Linked DNA regions of Homo sapiens: regions 2, 3, 4 and 5 are each linked to region 1. Evidence: promoter capture Hi-C in 16 types of primary human blood cells and fetal thymus (Javierre and others, 2016). All regions are on one chromosome and are shown on one strand. The core of a region is centred on a gene start or on the middle of the fragment in contact, and the rest is flanking DNA. Distances in the headings are between cores, read along the strand shown.

Evidence for each region. Contacts are between HindIII fragments. The CHiCAGO score rates a contact against its expected background, and 5 or more counts as called.
Region 2: a fragment that was not itself captured here is called in contact with the fragment with the promoter of BLOC1S5 in region 1 in 6 of 17 cell types (non-activated CD4 T cells, total CD8 T cells, naive CD8 T cells and 3 more); the score reaches 10.9 in non-activated CD4 T cells.
Region 3: a contact is called between a fragment that was not itself captured here and the fragment with the promoter of BLOC1S5 in region 1, in 4 of 17 cell types (M2 macrophages, M1 macrophages, megakaryocytes and 1 more). The highest score is 6.8, in M2 macrophages.
Region 4: a contact is called between a fragment that was not itself captured here and the fragment with the promoter of BLOC1S5 in region 1, in 1 of 17 cell types (naive CD8 T cells). The highest score is 5.1, in naive CD8 T cells.
Region 5: a fragment that was not itself captured here is called in contact with the fragment with the promoter of BLOC1S5 in region 1 in 16 of 17 cell types (M2 macrophages, megakaryocytes, naive B cells and 13 more); the score reaches 19.9 in M2 macrophages.

What each region holds. Positions count from the first base shown.
Region 1 is chr6:8,062,431-8,067,103 of GRCh38, forward strand. It overlaps BLOC1S5 (biogenesis of lysosomal organelles complex 1 subunit 5), which reads right to left and starts at 1,959. Exons shown (of 5, transcript NM_201280.3): 1 at 1,835-1,959; 2 at 104-186. The coding sequence starts at 1,946. BLOC1S5-TXNDC5 (BLOC1S5-TXNDC5 readthrough (NMD candidate)) reads right to left here and starts at 1,984. Exons shown (of 13, transcript NR_037616.1): 1 at 1,835-1,984; 2 at 104-186. It overlaps EEF1E1-BLOC1S5 (EEF1E1-BLOC1S5 readthrough (NMD candidate)), which reads right to left. Exons shown (of 7, transcript NR_037618.1): 4 at 104-186. RefSeq lists enhancers at 1,167-1,793, 1,403-1,592, 3,283-3,382, 3,393-3,542. The HindIII fragment of the contact is 8,031 bases long and covers 1-3,076 here.
Region 2 is chr6:8,440,424-8,445,096 of GRCh38, forward strand. The region is part of intron 2 of LOC100506207 (a long non-coding RNA gene); the gene reads left to right. Among named protein-coding and RNA genes, the nearest start is that of SLC35B3, 7.2 kb to the left of the region's middle. The HindIII fragment of the contact is 154 bases long and covers 1,770-1,923 here.
Region 3 is chr6:7,698,988-7,703,660 of GRCh38, forward strand. LOC105374906 (a long non-coding RNA gene) reads left to right here. Exons shown (of 4, transcript XR_926437.4): 4 at 1-995. Among named protein-coding and RNA genes, the nearest start is that of BMP6, 25 kb to the right of the region's middle. The HindIII fragment of the contact is 2,569 bases long and covers 1,061-3,629 here.
Region 4 is chr6:8,416,603-8,421,275 of GRCh38, forward strand. It overlaps SLC35B3 (solute carrier family 35 member B3), which reads right to left. Exons shown (of 10, transcript NM_001370479.2): 5 at 4,119-4,226; 6 at 2,978-3,075; 7 at 800-892; 8 at 282-393. Among named protein-coding and RNA genes, the nearest start is that of SLC35B3, 17 kb to the right of the region's middle. The HindIII fragment of the contact is 1,924 bases long and covers 1,218-3,141 here.
Region 5 is chr6:7,717,862-7,722,534 of GRCh38, forward strand. No RefSeq gene overlaps it. Among named protein-coding and RNA genes, the nearest start is that of BMP6, 5.9 kb to the right of the region's middle. The HindIII fragment of the contact is 3,394 bases long and covers 483-3,876 here.

The sequences.
Region 1 (4,673 bases), core at 709-3,208:
ACATGAACTAAAATCCGATTTTAAAACTGGGGAATTTCTCTTCTGTATAATAACACACTAACAATTAGGGAAGTACTTTTATAAAATAAGTTTAAATACTCACTTCAAATTCTTTTACAAAATAACGAGTTTCACCTTGAATAACTGGTCTGTGATCCAAAAGCCTTGAATGAATTTCTCCAAGATCTATAAAGATAAAATGAAATTCAGGGTTAATCCATGCTAAATGGCATAATCTCTAGCTTGTTTTACTCTCTCCCTTCCCCACTAAGAGATGAAGGTTAAAATCCAGTTTAGACTATGGACTAAGAAGAAATCTCATCCACTGCCAGTGGATGTGTACACTGATACAACTACTTTTGAGAACAATCTTTCAGTATTCAATAAAGTTGCAGACATGTATACCTAGCATTTTCATGCCTAGGTATGTACCCTGGAAAACTCTTGCACAAATGAGTAAGGCCATTTATACATATTTATTACAGCATAGGTGTAATATCAAAAGAAAAAACGCAAAACACCTTAACCATACTCATACAATGGAATTCTATCAATCACCAAGTAAAAATAAATACATCAGAGTTACACTTATCAACATAAATATAAAAAATAATACGTATTTTATAATAAATATAATAAAAAAGCAAGTTTCAGAAGGATTAAAGCAATTTACATAAAACTTTAAAATATTCAAAATATTTCCTTTTGGGATATAGACAGAAGCAACAAAACTATAAAGAAATGCACAAGAATAATAAACACCAAATTCTGGATAGTGGCTACCTTGAGACGAGGGAGGGGAACTAGTGCAATTAGAGCAAGACACAGTGGGGCTTTTAGTAATTTATTTATTAAGGTGGGTGGTGAATGTTCATTGTAAGTCTCTTTTTCATAAGTCTGAAAAAGTCATTAAGAAAAGGTCTGAATTTAAGTCTTTTGGTGAGTCAGTTTATTATTCTTCTTAGTTACAACTATGTAGTTTAAAATGTAAGTCTCAAAATTCCTTGAGAAATTAAATCTAAGACAATGTATTATTCATATTCATTCACTGGCAATGTTCCCCAAATTTTTCATTTTTGCAGACATACGATGGGCAGGTTTCAATTCTCTATTTTAATGAATTTTATTAGTACATATCTTCTTAAGCATGTCAAGTAGAAAAAATAATACAAGCACTGTATATAAGCACTTTATATCTGGTATATATAAAGCACTACAACTCAACTGTCAAAGACTTTCACGCAGCAAACAGCGTTGTGAGCTTTAGGAGTCAAACCTAAAGCAGATTCTGTGAGAATCTAGGTTGTAACCTTCTCCCAGCTCAAAGCACACAGAACACATGGACATTTCTGAACGTGAATGGTTCTTTACAGTGCTATAGAGCGCCTTCGTAAGTGTATCTCACTTACTCCTCGCACGACCAGGAACAGATCGGGTAGGAGAGTGAGTAAAGCCAGTGACCCGAAGTCACTCAACTCCTAAGCGACTGCCTCCCGCCTCCCAGGTCCAATGCCCTTTCCACTACACGTCGGTGGCGAGGCTGCCCAAAGGCTCTGCGCCCAGGGGTCCTGAGCTTGCGGAATGGACGGGGGCGGGCCTGATGGCTCAGGCTGCGACAGAGGAAAGCGGGGAAACACGAAGAGTTGGGCTGGTTGGTTGTGGTGGGACGCATTTGGCGCGGGGAAAAAGGCGGGGACCGACCACGACTCCCCCACCCGCACAAACGCACGCGCGCCAGCCCGGGACCCGGGGGTCGGCCCGGGTCAGAGGGCGCCGCCTGGGAGATGAGGCTGTGCTGGGATCCACCAGGAACTATAGCCCTGACACTCCGTACCCTTGATAATGAGGTGCGCTGAGCCCGCAGTCCCCAGGGAGTCCCTCTTCTTGCTGCCACCGCCCGGGGCGGCCTCACAACCCACAGGGGTCTCTGTCCCTCCGCCACTCATCCCGACCAGTTCCGCCCACCCGCGGCCACGCTGCGCCTGCGCAAACCCGGCCGCCCTCTTACAAGGCGCGCCCGGGTTTTTTTTGTGTGTGTGTCATTACAGGGCGCCGGAGAAATTTAATCTACCCAGCGGGCGGTTCCGGAAAGGCGCCTGCCGTGTAGTCAGGCTGTGAACTGGCAGAAGCTCTTGCCGCCATGCTGGATCAGGGCGGATGCTGCTAGAATAGGAAGGTGCTTGAACTTTGGAGCTAAACTCAGAGCCCTGGTTATTTGGCTCAAAGCTGGTGCATTCCAGTACAGTTGTCCTCCCATATCTGCTGAGAATACATTCCAAGACCCCCAGTAGATTCCTGAAACTGCATATAGTACTGAACCATGTATATACTATGTTTTTTCCTGTATATACATATGATAAAGTTTATAAATTAGGCACAGTAAGAGATGAACAATTAGAACAATTTAATAAAAGTTATGTGAATGTAGTCTCTCTCCCAAAATATCTTATTGTACCGTCCTGCGGGTAATGAAACCACAGAAAGTGAAACCTCAGATAAGGGGGGACTACTGTATAGCAAAGCCAATTAGCTGGGGGCTGTTTCCCTACTATGCCATGAGTGTGGCTGACTATTCCTGCCTTTCTTTTTAGACACCTGTTTCCTAGAATGCTTCTCTTGCTCCCTCTTTCTGTTCAAGTCAGTAAACTCACGTTGTATAATAAAGAATTTGACTGGACTTTGACTCTGGTTCCTGGGAGGTACCCTCAATCCTTAGAATTTCCCAAGTGATAGAAGTGTCTTTGTTATTCATGGTGGGCCTCTGGAAATACACCTGAGTTTATGCTAATGAGATGGCTCATGGAGGGCCCAAGATGATTTCAGAATGGAGGCTGGCCACACCAGAAGGGCCGGCCAACCATGAGGGCTTAGGCTTTGAGTCACATAAGCAGGCCCACCTCTGGGGAGCAGATTGGGGCTGGAGACTGAGTTCAGCCATGTGGCCAGTGATTTAACCAACTATGCCTACATAATGGAACCCCAGTGAGTACTCTGGATGTGGAAGCTCAGGTGAGCTTACTGGTCGATAATCATTCATCAAAGTGTCAGGAGGGGGAAGCGTTCCTGAGGACACGTAAGCTTCTATTTGGGAAATCTCCCACATCTCGCCCTATACATCTCTTCATTTGGCTGGTCCTGATATGTGTCCTTTATAATAAAACTGTAATAGCAAGGAAAGCACTTTCTTGAGTTCTATGAGTCATTCTGTGAAACCTGAGGGAGTAAAGCGAATAGCAATGAAACATCATGTGTAGAGAGAAGCTGCGTGGGTGAGAACTGAGGCACCCTAGCAGACAGTGCTCAGGCCCTGGGCATATGACAGAGACAGCTGGTCAGAAGTGCAGGTGGCCTGGGAACCCCAAAGCTTGTGGCAGGTGTCTGAAGGGGAGTCTTGAGGAGGACCATGCTTTGACCTCTGAAGTCTGTGCTAACTTCGGATAGCACTGCAGTTTAACAAACACTTACATGGCACTTGCTACATGCCAGGTAATACTGTAAGTGGTCTACAAATTTGCATTCATTTAATCCTCATGGCCGGCCTTTGAAGTAGTTATTATTAATGTCCTCATTTACAGACGAGGAGGCTGAGGCACAGAGAGGTTAAATGACTGCCTGACTTGTATGTGGCAGAAACAACTGCCTCTGTGTCTCTGTGTATGTGTTTAAGCATAGGTGGTGGGTGAAGAGAGAGTGGGGAAGGGAGATTTGGAGAGAAGGGAGAGAGAAGCCATATTAACTTTAACAGGCCACATGGGCTTTTCATTTTTTCATTCAAAAACATTTAACAAATACGTTATTGAGCAGCTGCTACGTGCCCAGCATAGTGCTAGGAGCTAAGACACAGTGGTGAACAAGACTAATGCAGCCTTTTCCTTTCCTCATGCAGCCTGCAGGGGAGCCAACACTGAATAAGTACACAATTACTTTTCTGCAAGTCTGTTGCTTGTAGCCTGTGAATATGTGTTCTAGCCATTTGATTATACACTATTAAGTTGTATTGTTCTCTGGGATGGTGAGGTCCAGCATATGCCTCTGTTCTCTCTCCGCTTTTATATAAATCTTTACACTGCGGCTCAGACAGCTAGGAGACTGAGAAGCAACATTGGCAGTGCCATTTCGCCTGGCACATTCAGCTGCTATGAGTGTGTCCTTGGTCTTTGACCCATGAAATCTCAAGAGTTTTGAGGCTAAAATGGGACTCTTATCCTTTCCCTGAAGGTCTTGTATTGTCTCTTATTGTCTCTGGATTGACAAGACTTTCCCTGTATTTTTAAATGAAATTTTTATTGAGGTATTTGTAGCTTCTCATGCAGTTGTAAGAAATAATAGAGTTTCCTTTTACACTTTGCCTAGTTTCCCCCAGTGGTAACATTTTGCAAATGCTAATGTTACAACCAGGATATTGACATTGATACAATCCACCAATGTTATTCAGATTTCACCAGTTTTCCTTGTATTCATTGTGTGTGTATATGTTTAAGTTTATGCAATTTTATTACATGTAGATTTATGCATCTATCATCACAGTCAGCATACTGACCAGTTCTGATGCCATAAGGATCTCGTTAAGGTTCCTGTTTATAACCACATTTACCTTCCTCCCTGTCCCCACCCTGACTTCTGGCAACCTATCATCTGTCCTCTATTTCTAAAAACTTTTTCACCTCAAAAAT
Region 2 (4,673 bases), core at 597-3,096, 380 kb after region 1:
ATAAATACTTATTGAGCACTTACTCTGCATGCTACTGGGTATTGTGGATATGTGGATGACAAGACAGACATGGATCCCTGCCCTCACAAAGCTCACAGCCTTGTGTGGTGGAGATAATTAATTACACAAGTAATTATAGTGTGATTTGTGTTGATAAGGGTATTAACTACAGGATGCAATGGGAGCTATAGGCTATGCTAATGAGGCTGTGGTTATAGATTCAGTTCCCCTGTAGGTTGCTTGACTTCCAGGGCTATCAGTTTTTCTCTGCTGTCTCCTAAATGGATAGAGGTTCACAGAACTGGGCCACCTGGACACCAGCCATGACTCCTCTTCTTTCCCAGTACTGATAATTGGCATGGGGCAAAATTCTTCATAAAGAGGTAGCATGTGTAATGAGATGGAGAAATATTTTGCTCGTTTAACACCTGGCTTTTGAATCCCTTTTTGGTCAAAGTTTCTGTGTTTTGTTTTCTTTTTGTAAGAAGTAATTCGATTAGCCTCTTAGAAGATTATTCTTAAACTGCCTTCCATGGAGGGTTAGTCTTATTAACATGAAGTTCTTTTTATTTCCAGAACAGTGCTGTCCAATAGGAATATAATATAAGCCATGGAAGCTACTTTAAATTTTCTGCTAGTTACATTAAAAAGGTGAAATGAGGCCGGGTGTGGTGGCTCATGCCTCTAATCCCAGCACTTTGGGAGGCCAAGGCAGGCGAATCACTTGAGGTCAGGAGTTCAAGACCAGCCTGGCCAACATGGTGAAACCCCATCTCTACTAAAAATAAAAAAAAATTAACAGGGCGTGGTGGCGGGCACCTGTAATCCCAGCTGCTCAGGAGGCTGAGGCAGGAGAATGGCTTGAACCAGCGAGGCAGAGGTTCCAGTGAGCTGAGATCATGCCACTGCAGTCCAGCCTGGGCAACAGAGTGAGTCTCTGTCTCAAAAAAAAAAAAAAAAAAGGTGATATTAATTTTAATAATATATTTATTTAACTCAATATAACCAAAATATTATCATTTCAACATGCAATCAATATAAAAAGTTGTTAATGAAATACTTTAACATCTGTTTTTTTATACAAAATCTTGGAAATCCAGTGTGTATTTCACACTTCCAGCATATTTTGGTTTGGACCAGCCACATTTCAAGTGCTCAGAGTAGCACATATGACTACTATCTACCACTCAGGACAATGGAATTTTAGAGCACTTTAATTCTTGTTCACCACTTGGAAGGTGATGAAGTTTAAAGTGCTAGAGAAAATCCAGGCTGGGCGCAGTGGCTCACATTGCCTGTAATCCCAGTACTTTGGAAGGTCAAGGCAGGCAGATCTCTTGATTCCAGGAGTTCAAGACCAGTCTGGGTAACATGGCAAAACCCTGCCTCTAGAAAACAAACAAACAAACAAAACAAAAATAAAATCAGCTGAGTGTGGTGATGCATGCCCATAGTCCCAGCTACTCAGGAGGCTGAGGTGGGAGGATCCCTTGAGCTTGGGAGGCGGAGGTTGCAGTGATCCCAGATCACACCACTGCACTCCAGCCTGGGTGACAGAGTGAGACCTGTCTCAAAAAAAAAAAAAAGAAAAAAGAAGGAAAGAAAGAAAGAACAAACAAATGAAGGAGGGAGAGAATAAAGGGAATCACCAGTGTGGTATGGCTGAGAAGGGAGCTTTTGGGAGACTATAGGTTCTGTATCTAACTGGAGTATTTAAGTTGTTTTATGGAGGCTGTGATTTATAATTCCACCACTTCATATTCTTAAAAAGCTTCAGTAAATCTGCATTGTTCATTAATGCCCTGCATAGGTGCATTATTTCAGATGAATTTAAAGAAGGCTAAATTCTGTGGCCAGGTGGGTGTGGAGTAAAAATAAAGATGGCTCCCAGGGATGTAGGAGCAAGTGGGTGGGAACTGCTAAAGCTTGTTTTTACGTAAGATAAGCATTTAACTTCCTCCACTCCTCTACTGTGAAGTCTTGAAGGGTTTATGTCACTAATTGTTCAACCTAAATAAACATTTATTAGGCCTGTTCTCTACAGCTGCAATTAGAACTTTTGAGAACCAGCTGCATTTTGCAACTTTGTTCTTTCTTGACTTCTGTACTGCTGCACTGACTGGTTCTCCTACCTCACTGTTCCTTGTCCTGTCCTCAAAATGTTCATGTTTCAGTCTCTGTTTTCCTGATCTTTTGTATAAACTCCTCTTCAGGAAATCAATTTAATTTAAGATTACGGACTTGTCCTCTATATCTGTGTAATTAACTGCTCACCTATGCTTTATTCTCATTTTTCAAACTGCTTGTTAGCGACATTGGATGCAGTGATATAACCCTGTAGTCATCCTAAGTGTGAACTCAGTTTCTTTCACAAATCAGTATTTTCCCTCCTCCTTTCTTTTCCTTTCAATAAAACTCTAATTATTTGTTATCACTATTTCTTTTTCTCCGTCCTTTCTAGAGGTTGAGTATCTCTTATGTGAAATGTATGGGACCAGAAGTGTTTCACAGATTTTAGATTTTTTAAAAATTTTGGAATATTTGCATATACATAATAAGATATCTTGAGGCTGGGGCCCAAGTCTAAACACAAAATTCATTTATGCCTTATAAATACCTTATACACATAGCCTGAAGGTAATTTTAAACAATATTTTTAATAGCTTTGTACATGAAACGAAGTTTGTGTTAAGTACTTATGTGTGGAATTTCCCACTTGTGATATTATGTCAGTGCTCAAAAGTTTTGGATTTTGGAGCATTTCAGATTTCAGATTTTCAGATTAGGGATGTTTAATTGTATTAGTTTACTTTGGTCCGTCTTGTGTATATAAGTAACTGTATTAGCTTTCTATTGCTGCTATAACAAATTACCACAAGCTTAGTGGCTTGAAGACCACACAGTTTTTTTATTTTACAGTTCTATAGGACAGAATTTCAAAGTGGGTTTTGGGTGGGTACAGTGGCTCATGCCTATAATCGTAGAGCTTTGGGAGGCTGAGGTGGGAGGATAGCTTGAGGACAATAGTTTGAGATCAGCCTGAGTAGCATAGAGAGTAGAGTAGAGTAACATCTCTACTAAATACATACATACATACATTACATACAAACATAATGAGCCTCACTGGGATGTAATCAAATGGTCAACAGTGCTGCATTCCTTTTGAAGCGGCTATGTTGTCTGGGGTATATACCTGGGGTTCGTAGTCTTGCACCAGGAAAACTTAGGACACAGACACACATGAAGAGTTTAGGGGTGGAGGCTTAATAGGCAGAAGAAAAGAGAAAGAAAAACAGCTCTCTCTATAGAGAGGGGTCTTCTGAGCAGAAAAGACCAGCTGGCAGTGAATGTGCCAGATTTTATAGTCCCGTTTGAGGAGGTGGTGTCTGATTTAGTGGGGCTTACAGATTGGTTCAATCAGGTATGATGTTTACATAGCACAAGGGGAAGACTGGTTGCCCCACCGTAATCTTATGCAAATGAACTCTCCCCTTGGCCAGTGCCATCTTGTCTGCTCCTTACTGTACACGTAAGGTAGAGAAGGGTAGATGGAGCCGCCATCTTGAACATGGTACTAGTCCCTAGTTCCTGCCGTCATTCACCCAGGGACGCTCCCAGCTTGCTTATCTATTCTGTGTCTATGGCTTGACTTTACAGGCTGCTCTTTGCTAGGAAATGATTTGGGGCTGCTTTTCATTAAAAAGAAAAGCCTTACTGAGGATTCCCATACCTTTACTATCTGCCTAAGTGATATCTTCTTAACTCCTATATCACTTTCTAGGGGCTCTAGGGGAGAGTTCATATTCTTTCTTTCTCCATCTTCTAGAGGTTATCCCTATTCCTTGGCTTGTTGTCCCCTTCCATTTTCAAAGCCAGCAAAGCCATTTGAGTCTTTCTCACATGGCTTCAGTGTGTACTGACTCTTCCGCCTCCTCTTATACATTTTAAAGATCCTTGTGATTACACTGGGCTCACTCAGATAATCCAGGATAATCTCCTTTTTTTTTTTTTTTTATTATACTTTAAGTTCTAGGGTACATGTGCACAACGTGCAGGTTTGTTACATAGGTATACATGTGCCCTGTTGGTTTGCCGCACCCATTAACTCGTCATTTACATTAGGTATTTCTCCTAATGCTCCCCCTCCCCAATCCCCCACCCCAGGACAGGCCCCAGTGTGTGATGTTCCTAGCCCTATGTCCAAGTGTTCTCATTGTTCAGTTCCCACCTATGAGTGAGAACATGTGGTGTTTGGTTTTCTGTCCTTGTGATGGTTTGTTCAGAATGATGGTTTCCAGCTTCATCCATGTTGCTACAAAGGACATGAACTCATCCTTTTTTATGGCTGCATAGTATTCCATGGTATATATGTGCCACGTTTTCTTAATCCAGTCTATCATTGATGGACATTTGGGTTGGTTTCAAGTATTTGCTATTGTGAATAGTGCTGCAATAAACATATGTGTGCATGTGTCTTTATAGTAGCATAATTTATAATCCTTTGGGTATATACCCAGTAATGGGATTGCTGGGTTAAATGGTATTTCTAGTTCTAGATCCCTGAGGAATCGCCACACTGACTTCCACAATGGTTGAACTAGTTTACATTTCTTTTACATTTGCTGAGGAGTGCTTTACTTCCAACTATGTGGTCAATTTTGGAATAAGTGCAA
Region 3 (4,673 bases), core at 1,095-3,594, 360 kb before region 1:
GTGTTTTTTGTTGTTATTTGCTAATCATTAATCAACTGTTTTACCTGATTAATTTTCTCTTTGGGAAAATAGATTGAGATTGTGATCTGGGAGACCAAAGTAGACATTACTTTATCAATGAAGAAGGACCTTAAGGTTAACGAAACAAAAAGTTGGCCAGGTGAGGTGGCTCACGCCTGTAATCCCAGCACTTTGGGAGGCAGAGGTGGGTGGATCACGAGGTCAGGAGTTCAACACAATCCTGGCCAACATGGTGAAACCCCGTCTCTACTAAAAATACAAAATTAGCTGGGTACGGAGGCACACACCTGCAGTCCCAGCTACTCAGGAGGCTGAGGCAGGAGAATTGCTTGTACCTAGGAGGCGGAGGTTGCAGTGAGCTGAGATCATGCCAGTGCACTCCAGCCTGTGTGATGGAGCAAGACTCCGTCTCAAAAAAAAAAAAAAAGAAAAAAAAATTTTACCTATGGATTGAGAGCTTAGGGCCCAGCTGGCCTTGCGAATTTCTAAATTCCTGTAAGAAAATCCACACTCTTGCTAAACTCCCTAACAATAGGAGCTATTGGGCAAATTATCCTAACTCCAATTTGCAATCCAGACCACTACTATTCTGATTGGACAGAGGACAGGCCTTACAAACATTCTTTTCTGATGAGCAATTGCAGACCTTAAGCCAGTTTCAGCCAGCTTATAGAGGCTGCACACACACTGTCTTTGTGTCCTATAGTTCACCTTTTGCCCCAAAGTGAATATGGGATGTATATTACATGTTTGTTTATTCATTGCTCCTGTGCTTGGCTCTCCTCATAAATATGTATAGCTTCTACCCCAAACCTGCTGAATACGTATGACTCTATTGTGTAATACAGACTCTCAGAGGAATGAGACCCAACCTGTCCTTCCCCTGTTTGAAGAGAGAGCATCTTTGGTCCATGCTGGAGACTTTCTCTTCCAGCTTGCAACTGATATCACCAATAAAGCTCTTCTTTCTACTATTTAGTCATCCTGGTGGTCTTTTGGATTATAAGTTTTTGTGTCCCATAGTTATACCCATTGCTTAAGCTTGCCATATAGAAAATGCCATTCATAGACACAGCTCTTCATTTGAGTACTTAAAGGTAAGTTTAAAATGTGGAAACAGGCTGGGCACAGTGGCTCACGCCTGTAATCACAGCACTTTGGGAGGCTGAGGCTGGTGGATCACCTGAGGTCAGGAGTTCAAGATCAGCCTGGCCAACGTGGTGAAAACCCATCTCTACCAAAAATACAAAAATTAGCTGGGCATGGTGGCACGCACCTGTAATCCCAGCTACTCAGCAGGCTGAGGCAGAAGAATCACTTGAACCTGGGAGTCGAAGATGGCAGTGAGCTGAGATCATGCCATTGCACTCCAGCCTGGGTGACAGAGCGAGAATCCATCTCAAAAAAAAAAAAAAAAAAAAAAAAAGTGGAAACACCATTTTGGAGGTTTTCTTTCAATAACAAAGATGTTGCCCAAAAGGAAATACATTTCTACGATACCCTTTGGGTGTGACAGGGAATTTTATACACCTCCATAAGGAAAGTGTATAACATTCTTGGGAGCTACCTTCAAGCATTTACTGTACAGGGAAAATGGAAGATGGTCTACTGAATGAGTGTCTCACTGTGGATTGGTCCAGGAACCAGTTCAGCACATGGTAGCAGCTATTCCTTTTTAAAGTAAACTGATGGAACTTTTGTTTCCTTTTGTTTCCTGAAACCTTTTGTTTCCTGATTCTCTTGTTTTTGGCAAATTCTTACTTGAAAATATTTTTGAACTAGAATGTTTTGAGCTCGGAGAACCTGCAGAAACCATCTTATTTATGGATGCAGAAGGTAGCACAGAAAGGTTAAGGAACTTACCTAAAGTTACACAGCTAATTTGTGGCAAAAGTGGGATTCACTTCCAGGTTTAGTATGTCATTTGAATCACGTCATAACCTGCTTTGGAGAACAAATTGATCTAAAGAATTGACTGTTCCAAAGAATTTGGTTTATAAATCTTAAAATCATTTAGATCACAAAATGTCATGAGAGAAAACACTGAGAATATAGAGAAATGTTCAGAATATTAGAACAAATTGAAGTTGTACCTATTTCAAGAAAAATAAAATCTTTCCTATATCTTTATGTGTATAATGATTTTTAGATTATTTTTTAAATTGCCAAAATTCAATTTGGCAAAGCAGTGAACTTTGAAACACATGTTAATAAACTGAAGTTTTATTTACTGATTTTCTATAAACAAATAAACACTGAAATGTTATCTATAATAATGAATATTCTTGTGTTCCTGGAACACATTGAAATATTGTGTTGTAATAAAATAAAAATTACAGTGCTGTAGAGGTTAGCATTGGAGGTTAACGTATTATTTCGATGTATAAAATATAGTATTGAACAAAACAGACATAAATCAGCATATGGTGGGATTCCATTCATATGAAATGCAAAAATGGGTGTATTAGTCTGTTCTCACATGGCTATAAGGAGATACCTGAACCTGGATAATTTATAAAGAAAAAAGGTTTAATTGGCTCACAGTTTTGTAGGCTGTACAGGAAGCATGGCTGAGGAGGCCTCAGGAAACTTACAATCATGGTGGACGGTGAAGGGGAAGCAGGCTTATCTTATATGGACAGAGAAGGAGGAAGAGAGTGAAGTGGGAGGTGCTACCCACTTTTAAACCACCAGATCTTCTGAGAACTCACTGTCACGAGAAGAGCAAATTGGGAAATCTGCCCCTTTGATCCAGTCATCTCCCACGAGGCCCCTCCTCCAACACTGGGGATTTCAGCTCAACATGAGATTTGGGCAGGGATGAAAATCCAAACCCTAACAATGGGCAAAACCAATTTAGACTGTTACAAGTCAGGATGGTGGCTGTTCTTGGGATGGGTTCCCGGAATTGCTGGAACTGGGTGTGAGGGGCTGGTCATGTTTCTTGATCTAGGTTCTGGTTACATATGTGTGTTCAGTTTGTGAAAGTTTATCAAATTGTGCATTACTACCTATGTAGTTTTCTGAATATATATTATACTTCAATAAAATGTTTTAAAAATATGTATATCATATATCATTTCATCTTAGAAACAGAACACGTTAATAAGTGACTAGTTTTTGGAAGAAATTATTATAGCATAAGTTTTAAAAAAAGATGTTGGGGTGGGGTTTTTAACTTTCCATAATGCTGTAAAGTTTGCAACACTCACACAGTCATAGAACAAATAGAACTTTGACTTTGGTTTCAAAATTTATGCAGCTGCCTCCATATACTTTTGACAGTTTAATCACATATTTAACAGTTACAAAGCATGTTTTAGACATCAAGAGGATACATGGAGATGGTGGTAGGGCTTATATACCCATGGTCGTGTAAAACAGGAAAAATGTCAGCAAAAATAAACTATTATGCTGGTCTATTGAGTGACTTTGTCAGCTTTATAAAGGAATGAATATATAGTGTTGAAGGATAATCTTTCTGAATTAGTAAGTTATTTTTTAAAAAGCACATCTAAATCAATACCTTATTTTAGAAGAAATGTAATGTTAGGCATACTAACATGTATAAAACATAGTTTTTGAAAGAAACAGCTGATACCCTTTAAAGCTTACAGAAGACTAGAAATAATCTGACTTCCAAATGCTCCCCTCTTTGGTTGAAGCAGGAATATTCTATGAGGCATTTAAGGGAAGAGAAGCAGGGATTGTGAGTAAAAAGGGTGTGGACAATTTCCTCAAGTGAAACTTGCTTGGATAATCGGTGGCTGAACTAAAAAATTCACTTATTTAGACTTTTTACCAGTTTCATAACTAAGTTCTTCTCCAAGGGAGGCTGATGTATATTTATGTAACCATATTTTAGGGCTTAAAAAGTTCACAATTTAAAAAGACTCCTGCAAGGAAACAGGCCCTATTTTTTCTCCCAAATACCCTGAACTTTGGAGCTAGATAGCTTCTTAGTCTAACTGTTACAAAGGAATCCTTTTGTTTAAGATTTTTGTTCATTCGACTTTTGATATTTCTTGCTTTTGTCAACAAGTTAAATTCTATGTGAATTCATATCCCAGTATGATGTTCTCAATAAGCTGATCCAATTATTGCATCAAAAATGCTCCTTTTAAAAAATAGAGACCTGTCTCAATTTCTTCTCAATGGAGTGTGCAGTGTGTATTTCTAAATGAATTGAAAAAATAGATGTCAAGTAGAAGCAGGTGGCTGCTACATATTTTTGCAGTACTTAAGCAACTAATTGGCTTATTTCTTTTTAAGAAAAACTGATGAGGAAAACATCCTTTTCTAAAGAATTAAACAGCATCATCATCATATTATGTTTACTTAGCACTTTCCAGTTTGCAAAGCATGTTTCCTATTTTTGTCGTTATTCAATCATCACAATAATTCCATTAGTACTAGTTAGGTATGATTGTTACTCCTGTTTTACAAATGAGAAAACTCTGACTCAGAGGGCAGAGCCAGGGCTGTCTGCCTGTGTGTTTAGCTGGGTGACATCCTTTCCACGACATCATAGGGACCTGTGATCAGAAAAAGGAAGAATTTTTTTCTAACTTTTTTTTCTGAAAACAAGAATTTTTGCAAACGATATGATAGAATATAATTGAATTTTAAAATTAGACAAGGTTTTTCAAAAT
Region 4 (4,673 bases), core at 930-3,429, 350 kb after region 1:
CATCATAATTTTATAGAAAGTTCTTTTAATGCGTTTAAGGGTTACTGTTCTGATAAATGTATATGTTTGATTTTAAAATTAAACCATCAAAATAAGAAATTAAGATCAAACAACATTTTCTTTAGAATTCTAAAGAAACACCATAAGCCAAAGAATAAATTGGTGAAATATGATAATTTTCTTTTTAATATAAAGGAGATGTTGCCCTTATGTTTTGAAAAAGAGCATCAGAGAAAATGTAAATGCTTATTTTATAATCAAAGCAAGTAAATCCCTCCTACCTGTTACAGCAATAAGTGCACCAAAAATTTTAATCAAAGCCAGAACAAAGGAGATTCCAAAATATCCAGTGAGGGAAAAAAGGAACGCATAACCATAGGTCCGAACTGGATTCTGCAAAAAATAAAAAAGCCTGTTAGAAAAATGTAAAACAAACTCCGAGGTATTACAAATAAAATAAAACTACAGATGTTAATCAACTTCTTGAGCAATAAGTTGTTTGACAATGCAGTCAAGCAAAGATTCTTATTTTGATTTAATGAAAAAAAAATGTTGAAATTAAAGATCCTCAACTTTCCTACATTATGAACAGCTTAAAAATCAACTCATAGGGTACAGCAAGGATAAAATAAATTTAAATATCAGTCATTTCATTTCTGAAATTAATTTCCGATTGGCATGTTATGTTAAAGGAGGTATCATTATATCTATGATAGCCTCTTTTGAACAAGGGAAATGAGAAATTTAGAGAAAATTATTTAACAGAAGATTTTTTTTTTTAAATGTGATTAGTGTTTACCTTTGCACAAAATGTTACTGCAGGGCCTAATCCACTAGTGCATGTCAATCCCAGTAAAATGTATACAAAACCAATTGAATACGAATACAATACCTAGAGCAGATAAAAATAAAGCAGAAAAAAGTACTATGAAACTGAAAATGGAAGATTAAGGGTTTTAACTCTATGGCTCAATTAGGTTTGCAGAACAAACATTTTAAAAGAAACATTATAATTTCAATATGGCCTAAATTTCCAGAAATGTTATTTGATTCTAATGTTTTATAAGTCTATGCCTCATTTTATGTACAAAATAACACCTAGTAATATTAATCCTTTCATATATGCTTACATATTCATTTCTTTCTAGGCTTAATTATTGAAATCAACCAGATTTTCATATTAGAGTTCTAAAAAAAATAAATGAAACAAAACAAAAAGCTTTAAAGATACTTATAAAACATAAAAAAATTAAGTTTCTAAAATACATTAAAATATAATGAAAATAAGCAGCATATGGCATATCTACTGCTTAACTTCTCTATTTTCCAACCAACCTTTTAATCCCAATTTACTATGCTTTTCATAAACAGAATCAGCAGCAGCAGCAGCAGCAGCAAACCTAAATATCTGCTGTGTGTCAGGTACTGTGTTGAAGCTCGGTACGGATTATTCCATTTACTTCTCACAACCACCCTAGATATGGGTATTCTTAGTTATCATAATCCAATTTCCAGATGAAGAAACTATAACTTAGAGATATTAAGTAATTTTCCCCAAATGAGTGCTAGTAAAGCCAGGATATGAACTGAGCTATCTTATTCCAGAGCCTACCATCATAAACACTGCATTATATTAACTTTCTAACAACCTACACTCCCTCAATTCTCTCTGTGCCCATCCTTACCTTATCTACAATGAGTAGTGATTATGATGAAGAAAATTCTTAACCAAGTTCCTGTGTTATTAGAGACTACCTAAGTTGCCCCATTCTGTGTCAAGAAAATAACAGGAAAGAATAGTCCTGTCTATCCTTAATTCAGTATGCTCTTTCTGTCCAGCAAGGTGGTTGGTTATAAAATTAATGTAAACACACACACACACACACACATACACACACATAATTTTCCTATATAAAAACCAGTTACAAGATATACAAAAAGACACTACTTGCAAAAAAAAAAAACAGTTACAAGAGATACAGAAAGATATTATTTGCAATAACCACAAAAAGATGAAATAACTTTAATAAGTTATTATTAACAATACCTTTAATAAGAAATGTGCTGGATTTACATGAAGAAAACTTTAAACTCTAATGGACATTGAAAAAAAGACCACTTGAGTAAAAGAAAAGTCATACCTTATTCTTGGACTGAAATAATCAAGATGCCATTCTCCCTAAATTAATTTATAATTCAATGCCATACCAATCACAATACCAATGGGATTTTTAGTTTATTTGGGAATATAAACACCCCAGAATAACTACTGGTAGTAATATTCTGCAAAAGAAAAGGAACAATGGTAGCTAGTCCTAACAGATAATAAATGTCTGATAAAGCTGCTGTCATTATATGTACTATTGCAAAAATAAATTCAAATACAATTCTGAATGCCACACAAGAGTGTGATATGATAAAGAGGGCATTTAAAATGAGCTGAAAGTGGATTATTCAATAAATGATATTAGAAAAAATGGTAGTCATTTGAAAGAAAAGTTCTTTTAAAAAAGTTTTAGATTGGATCAAGGGCTTAATAAAAAAGGAAATCACAAAACTAGTAGGCAACAGGGATGAAATGTTCTAAATCTCAGGGTTAGGAAAGCTCTTTTCAACCATGATACTTAGCCAGAAGCCAGCAAGGAAAAGACAAATTGGGCCATATAAAAATTACAAACTTCTACATGGAAAAATACTACCCACTAGAAAGAGATGAGAGAAAGGATATAACAAAAGATTTTATTTTAATACATAAAAAACTAAATCAATGAGGAAAAAATTTGTCAACTATGCAACAAGCGGTTAGCACTGCTAGTTGTAGTTTTAGTTTTTACCTTCCTATAATGTTTGAATGTATTACTTTTGTAAAAATGAGTTTAAAAATGCAATGCTAGTTATAATAATTATTTCATCAAATTACGTGTATCACCATTTTTTAAATCTGTCTAATTTGAAGAAAAAACACTAGAGTATTTACCATTTCAGAATTAGAAGCATTATGAAGTTTCATAGCTTTCTCTTGAACATTTCCAATGACGGCATCTGCACATAGTGCCAGGGAAATAAGCACCACACCTTCAAGAAGGTATTAAAAAAACAAACAAAAAAACCCTCCTTATTTAAACATATGAACTATAATCAAGCTTTATCAGAAATTTCATTGGTCTAAAAAACAAAAGCAGATCTTCAACTACATTTGTTCGGTAATCCAGAATATTCTTATTCACAATCGGTTGTAACAAGTACATATGTGATGATATTAAAAAAGATATACTAATAAACTGAGTTAGTTCTGTACATATCACATTTCACATTTCAATAGCGTATTAAATAACAGTTCCATAAATATTCTACTAGTCTAATAGTTCCACTAGTTCTGAAAGTGTAGAAGAAACTCTTAGGATATCTATCTATTGGGATTGGTGGCTATTCAGTTAATTAAAAAAAAAAAAAACAGATGAAGAGAAAAGTCATTTTTGAAAAACCCTATTATTACTAAAATGTTTAATTTAAATCACATAAACAGGCACGCTGCTGTCAGGGCCTTTTTCTTTGAGCATGGGTCCTGAATAGAATTCCATATTTTCTCCTTTGTATAAACACACTCAGCACACATTTTCCATGATTTCCAAGGTGTTTTTGTTTAAAAGTGCCCTGCAGAGTACAGAATCCTTTCATATGTTTATGAGCTTCCCTCCAATATTCACAGTGGTTTTACCCACACCTCATTCAATAGTGATTTTATTGCTTGTCAATCAAGTTGTGTCAGTTAACTCAGTTTTCACAAAAACAATTATTTGTTCATATTCATTTTTGAATAACGTAATACTGAGTTACGACATAATTATAATAAAGGTACAACTGACATAAACAAATCTGAGTCAACACTTCATTCCTGAGAAGCATCAAAATGCATGCACACTAAAAAACAAACAAATTGTTTTATCTACAGAGCTGTGATATTTTCACTACATCTTATATGGAAAGTCCAAAAGCTTTATGTTAGATATGAAAATTGCAGCTGTCACACTATCATTTAAAATGCTTACAAAATATTCGAAATTCGTATTCTAAACTAAAAAGCCTATAAAAGCTAGGAATATAAATAAATTACTTACCCGTCAGGTTGAAATTTGGTGCAGTTGTGCTGTCAGCGAGGGTAAACCATATCAGGCCAAGGCTCATACATATGGCAGCAGACACATCTGCAACATTATAACGCTTTCCTGTATAAAACAAACGTAAGTCCACTTCATTATGCAAATACCCACCCAGCTTTATATTTGCTCTATGTGTTAAGTAGAACATGGATTTGTTTTTTTATATCCAATGCCAAAAACGTGAACACTTAGGTCAAGGCAGAAGACAGTCACAAGAGGGCTTCTGAAAACTACCAATGGGCAGCAATATGTCCCTGTAAGTTAGAAACGAGAGCTACTTTATCTGGTATAATAGTGACACTAAAATACATACTTTGGCAAAAACTGACAGCAAGAATAATGCACATCCACAAACATTTAAAAAATTTCCTGGAAATTTAGTTCCTGTTTTACTTTGTGCATAATAAAAGGTTATGAATTTTCTCGTAGTTTGTAAATTTACGAAGTAACCAGATTAATGAGTCTGGTTACATAACTGTTTAAGTTTGCAAATATCATAATGTGATAACTTCC
Region 5 (4,673 bases), core at 930-3,429, 340 kb before region 1:
GCATGCCACTTCACTCCAGCCTGAGCGACAGAGAGAGACCCTGTCTCAAAAAAAAAAAAATCATATTTGATGATTGAAGCAAAAATATAACACCATCTTATATGCAAGACAATGAGATAATAATATTCAATAGTGGGAAAGTAAAGGGAACTAAGTGAATTGAACCTCAACTGAGGTAGAAATATGTAGAAATATGTTGATACCAATAGACTGTGATAAGTCACAAATGCATATTTTAGTAACCTGAGCAACCAGTATGAAAGCTATACAAAAAGATAACTAAAAAATGCTATCAATCAGTCAATCAAAGTGGAATCCTAAAAACAACGTGCAAGTAACTTACAGGAAGGCGAGAAAAGTTGACATGAAATTTAACATCTTTAGGTAATCCCATAATTTTGAGTTAAAAATGAATTATGGAAAAACTCAACACTAAGTGGCTTGAGACAATGTGTAAGGAAACAGTAAATTGGGAGCTAAGAAGCTTGGCTTTAGTAATAATTGATTTAATATAGATTAATAAATTCAATCCTGAGTAAAAACTTAGCGATATAATTTTGTCATTACTAATCTAATTGGAATAAAGGCATGTATTACTTTTTTTTTTTTGAGACAGAATCTCACTTGTGTTACCCAGGCTGGAGTGCAATGCTGTGATCTCAGCTCACTGCAACCTCCGCCTTCCAGGTTTCAGCAATTCTCCTGCCTCAGCCTCCCAAGTAGCGGGATTACAGATGCCCACCACCACACCCGGCTAATTTTTGTAATTTTAGTAGAGACAGGGTTTCACCATGTTGGCCAGGCCGGTCTTGAATTCCTGACCTCAGGTGATCTGCCTGCCTTGGCCTCCCAAAGTGCTGGTATTACAGGTGTGAGCCACCGTGCCTGGCCCAAGCATGTATTACTTTCTACAGCAAAGGAGGTAACTGAGCTTGAATTATTACATCTTAAGATTAAAGCTACAAGAATGTTTTTTTAAAAAATTAGCTTTAATTTTAGCATAATTTTAAATCTACAGAGAAATTGCAAAGATAGTACAGAGAGTTCCTGTATATCTTACACCCAGTGTCTCCTATTATTATAACATGACATTTTACATCATAATTAATGAATCAACATTAATATAGCATTACTAAGTAAACTCCATACTTTATTTCAATTTGATTAGCTTTTTCTTAAAGTTCTTATTTTTCCTTCAATAACTCATCCAGGATACCACATTTATAGGAGTCCTTTGAAAATGAATACTTAACTATCCTGGCTAACATGGTGAAACCCCATCTCTACTAAAAATACAAAAAATTAGCCGGGTGTGGTGGCGGGCACCTGTAGTCCCAGCTACTTGAGAGGCTGAGGCAGAAGAATGGTATGAATCCAGGAGGCGGAGGTTGCAGCGAGCCGAGATCGCACTACTGCACTCCAGCCTGGGCGACAGAGCGAGACTCCGTCTCAAAAAAAAAAAAAAAAAAAAAATAGAAAATGAATACTTAATGGCTAAACTTCATATCTTGGAAGAAATTTTATGTTCAGAGATGGAGCTATTATGTTACTACAGAGGGAATCTTGTGGGAAGGCTATTAGGGGACTTGTCTTGAAGCTGTTCTTTCCCGGCAAGCCCTCTGTTTATTATGAGTATTATGAGTGGTTTTTTGTAGTGTGGGTGCTGATGCCAAAGCTCCTCCAAGCCACTTTTTGGCATGGTCAGCATATTAACCCACAGTCATTAGTGCATGAACACGATCTTCCTCAGCCATAGTAAATTCACACTACTACCCCAGGCTTTGTGCAGTGGGAGGGACCTCTACAGAAGGAGAAGTTGTTGCATGGCTTGTTTTTCCATGCAACATGCACATCCTCTTATCATCGGGGTTTGCCTTCAAATGTGTCCAGAATCCAACTACTTTTCTGTACCTTCACTATTTCCATATGAGGTCCCCTACGAGCCGTTATCATTTTTTGTCTGAGCATAAACGGTTTCCTGACTAGTGTCCCTGATTCTGCCCTGGCAACTCCATAGTCTGTTCTCAACACAGTGACCTGAGAGACTCTTAAAATTTAAGTTGGCTCCTGTCACTTCTCGCTCGAAACCATCTAACAGCCCTCCCATCTCACACTTGTTTGTTGTTGTTCTCATACTTATTTTTTTAAACCAAAGTTTTTATTGCAAAGTAACATACGTACAGAAAGCGTACAGAGCCTCTGTGTAGCACTCATGAAATGATTAAAATTGACTACACCTGTATAACCACCACCCAGGTAAGGAAATAGACCAACTGTTGGGAAACCCCACGTGCTGTCATTCAATCAATACTCCCACTTGTCTCTCCAAAGGGAACCACTACGCTGTCTTCTAGATTAGGTAAGCCTGTTTTTGAATTTTGTGGAAATAGAATTACAGTATGTGTTGTTTCTTATCTGGCTTCTTTTCCTCACTGTTATGTTTGTGAGATTTTTCCATGTTGTGCCATCTCACGCTTTTTTAAAAGCCCAAATCTCCTCCAAGGTGTCTGGCGTCCAGAACTCTATAGCACCTTGGCCCCAATTCCCACCCTCCCTTGGCTTTCTGATCCAATTTCCTACTGTTATTCCCTCTCATGTCCTCTGTTCTAGCCTCATTGGCCTTCTTGTTCTTCTCAAACTCACCAGGCATGCCCCTGCCACAGGGCCTTTGCACTTACCATTTCTACTGCCTAGAGAGCTCTGTCTGAAGGTATCCCCATGGCTGGCTCCACAGACTCTGTCAGGTCTCTGCTCAAGTGCTGTCTTCTCTGTCAGGAGGTGATGCCTTACCTGACCATCCACACACTCCCTAGCCCCCTCCCCTGTTTGAATTTTCTCCGCAGCACTTACCACCCTACTATATATGTGTTAGTTTCCCATTGTTGTCAAAACAAAATATCACACATTTAGTGGCTTAAAACAACACAAGTTCATTGTCTCAGGGTCCCACAGATTGGAAGACCAGTAGGCTAGGCTCCCTTCTTCGTTCTGGGTCTCACCAGGCTGACATCAAGATGTCACCTGCCCTGGCTCTTATCTGGAGGCTCTAAGTAAGAATCTGCTTCTAGGCTTATTCAGGTTGTTGAAAGAATTCAGAATTAAGACGGGGGTTGCTATTTTCTTGCTGGCTTCCAGAGGTTGCCTGTATTCCCTGGCCTGTGGCCTCTTCCCCTTCAAAACCAGGGGCAAAAATCATGAGGGCCAACATCCTGCCTACCACAGTATACATTCCTAGTTATTTTGTTTACTATCCATTTCCCCATCTAGAATCTATGTGGACAGGGATTTCTGTTTGGTATCCCAAAACCTAGACCACTGCCTGGCACATAGGCATGGAAAGATGTGTTGAATGAATGAATGAAGACTGGGTAATTAGCCTTTCTCTTCTTTTTAAAAAGCTGTCAGTGACTTTCATTTTAACCTGATTTTACCACCAGTGTGCTTTTCCCTGGCTCCACATGCCACTGGTTACGGCTTTGCTAGTTAAGGGGATTACTAACAGGATAATGTCATATTTTTATGTTACCTCCTAGTGACACAGAGACACATCCTGGACAGGAGGTACAGAGTGGGGTCACAAAATGGACTGAAGCTCAGAGGCCAGCACAGGCCAGGGAGCCTCATGCACCCCAGTTAACTAAGTGTCCAATCATTTCTTGGAATAAAACTCTTCAGGGATAGTAAAACTAGTCATGGAAATGTGTTAAGCATTGTTTTGCTCAGAAAAAAAATTGAAGACTTAGTCTGCACATGTTAATTACTCAATGAAAATTTCACAAACGATTTAATCATCTGGATGTCTCGAAATATTCTGTTGCTTAATATTATGTAGACAGCCTAAATCCTAGGGTCATAGAGATCTGAGCTTGTGTGAAAAGCTTGAAACACGTACAAGTAACAGATTTGCTATTTGGGTTATGGTGTGGAAAAAAATCTCTGGAAACAGATTTATGTATTAGTTTTTCACTTTGCCACCAGATGTCCTTCATGAGTAGGAAAATATGATGACTTGAATGATATTTTGAAGTGTGAATGCCCAGCATTTTTGAGTAGACAGTGAAAGCGGAGTGTGACTGAATGTAAATGTTACCACAGACTTTTGGATGAGACAGGTCTTTTGAAGGCTGTCTTACAGGTGTAGCTTTCAGAAGCAATACTTATTTCACTTGCAAATTTTCATTTCTCATACTTTACAACCATTTATCTATTTTCTTTTCACTCAACTCTAAATCGATATTTTAAAAATTTGATCGAATTATTATACTTTGAAATTAACATTAAGAAGTACTCAGGTCCTTATGCTAATAGTAAAGATAAAAAGTTGGTCTTTGGAGTGGAACGTCTCAATAATTCAAGGAGGCTAGACCTCAGTCTTTTAAACATGACAGCTACACAGTTTACAAGATTTTTTTTTTTTTTTTTTGAGACAGGGTCTTGCTGTCACCCAGGCTGGAGTGCAGTGGTGTGATCTGGTGATCTGGGCTCACTGTAACCTCCACCTCCCTGGCTCAAGCGATCCTCCCACCTCAACCTCCTGAGGAGCTGGAACTACAGGCGTGCACCACCACACCCGGCTAATTTTTGTATTTTTTTTTTTTTTTTTTTTTTGTAGAAACAAGGTCTTACTAGGTTGCCCAGCCTGATCTCGAGCTCCTGGGCTCAAGTGATCTGCC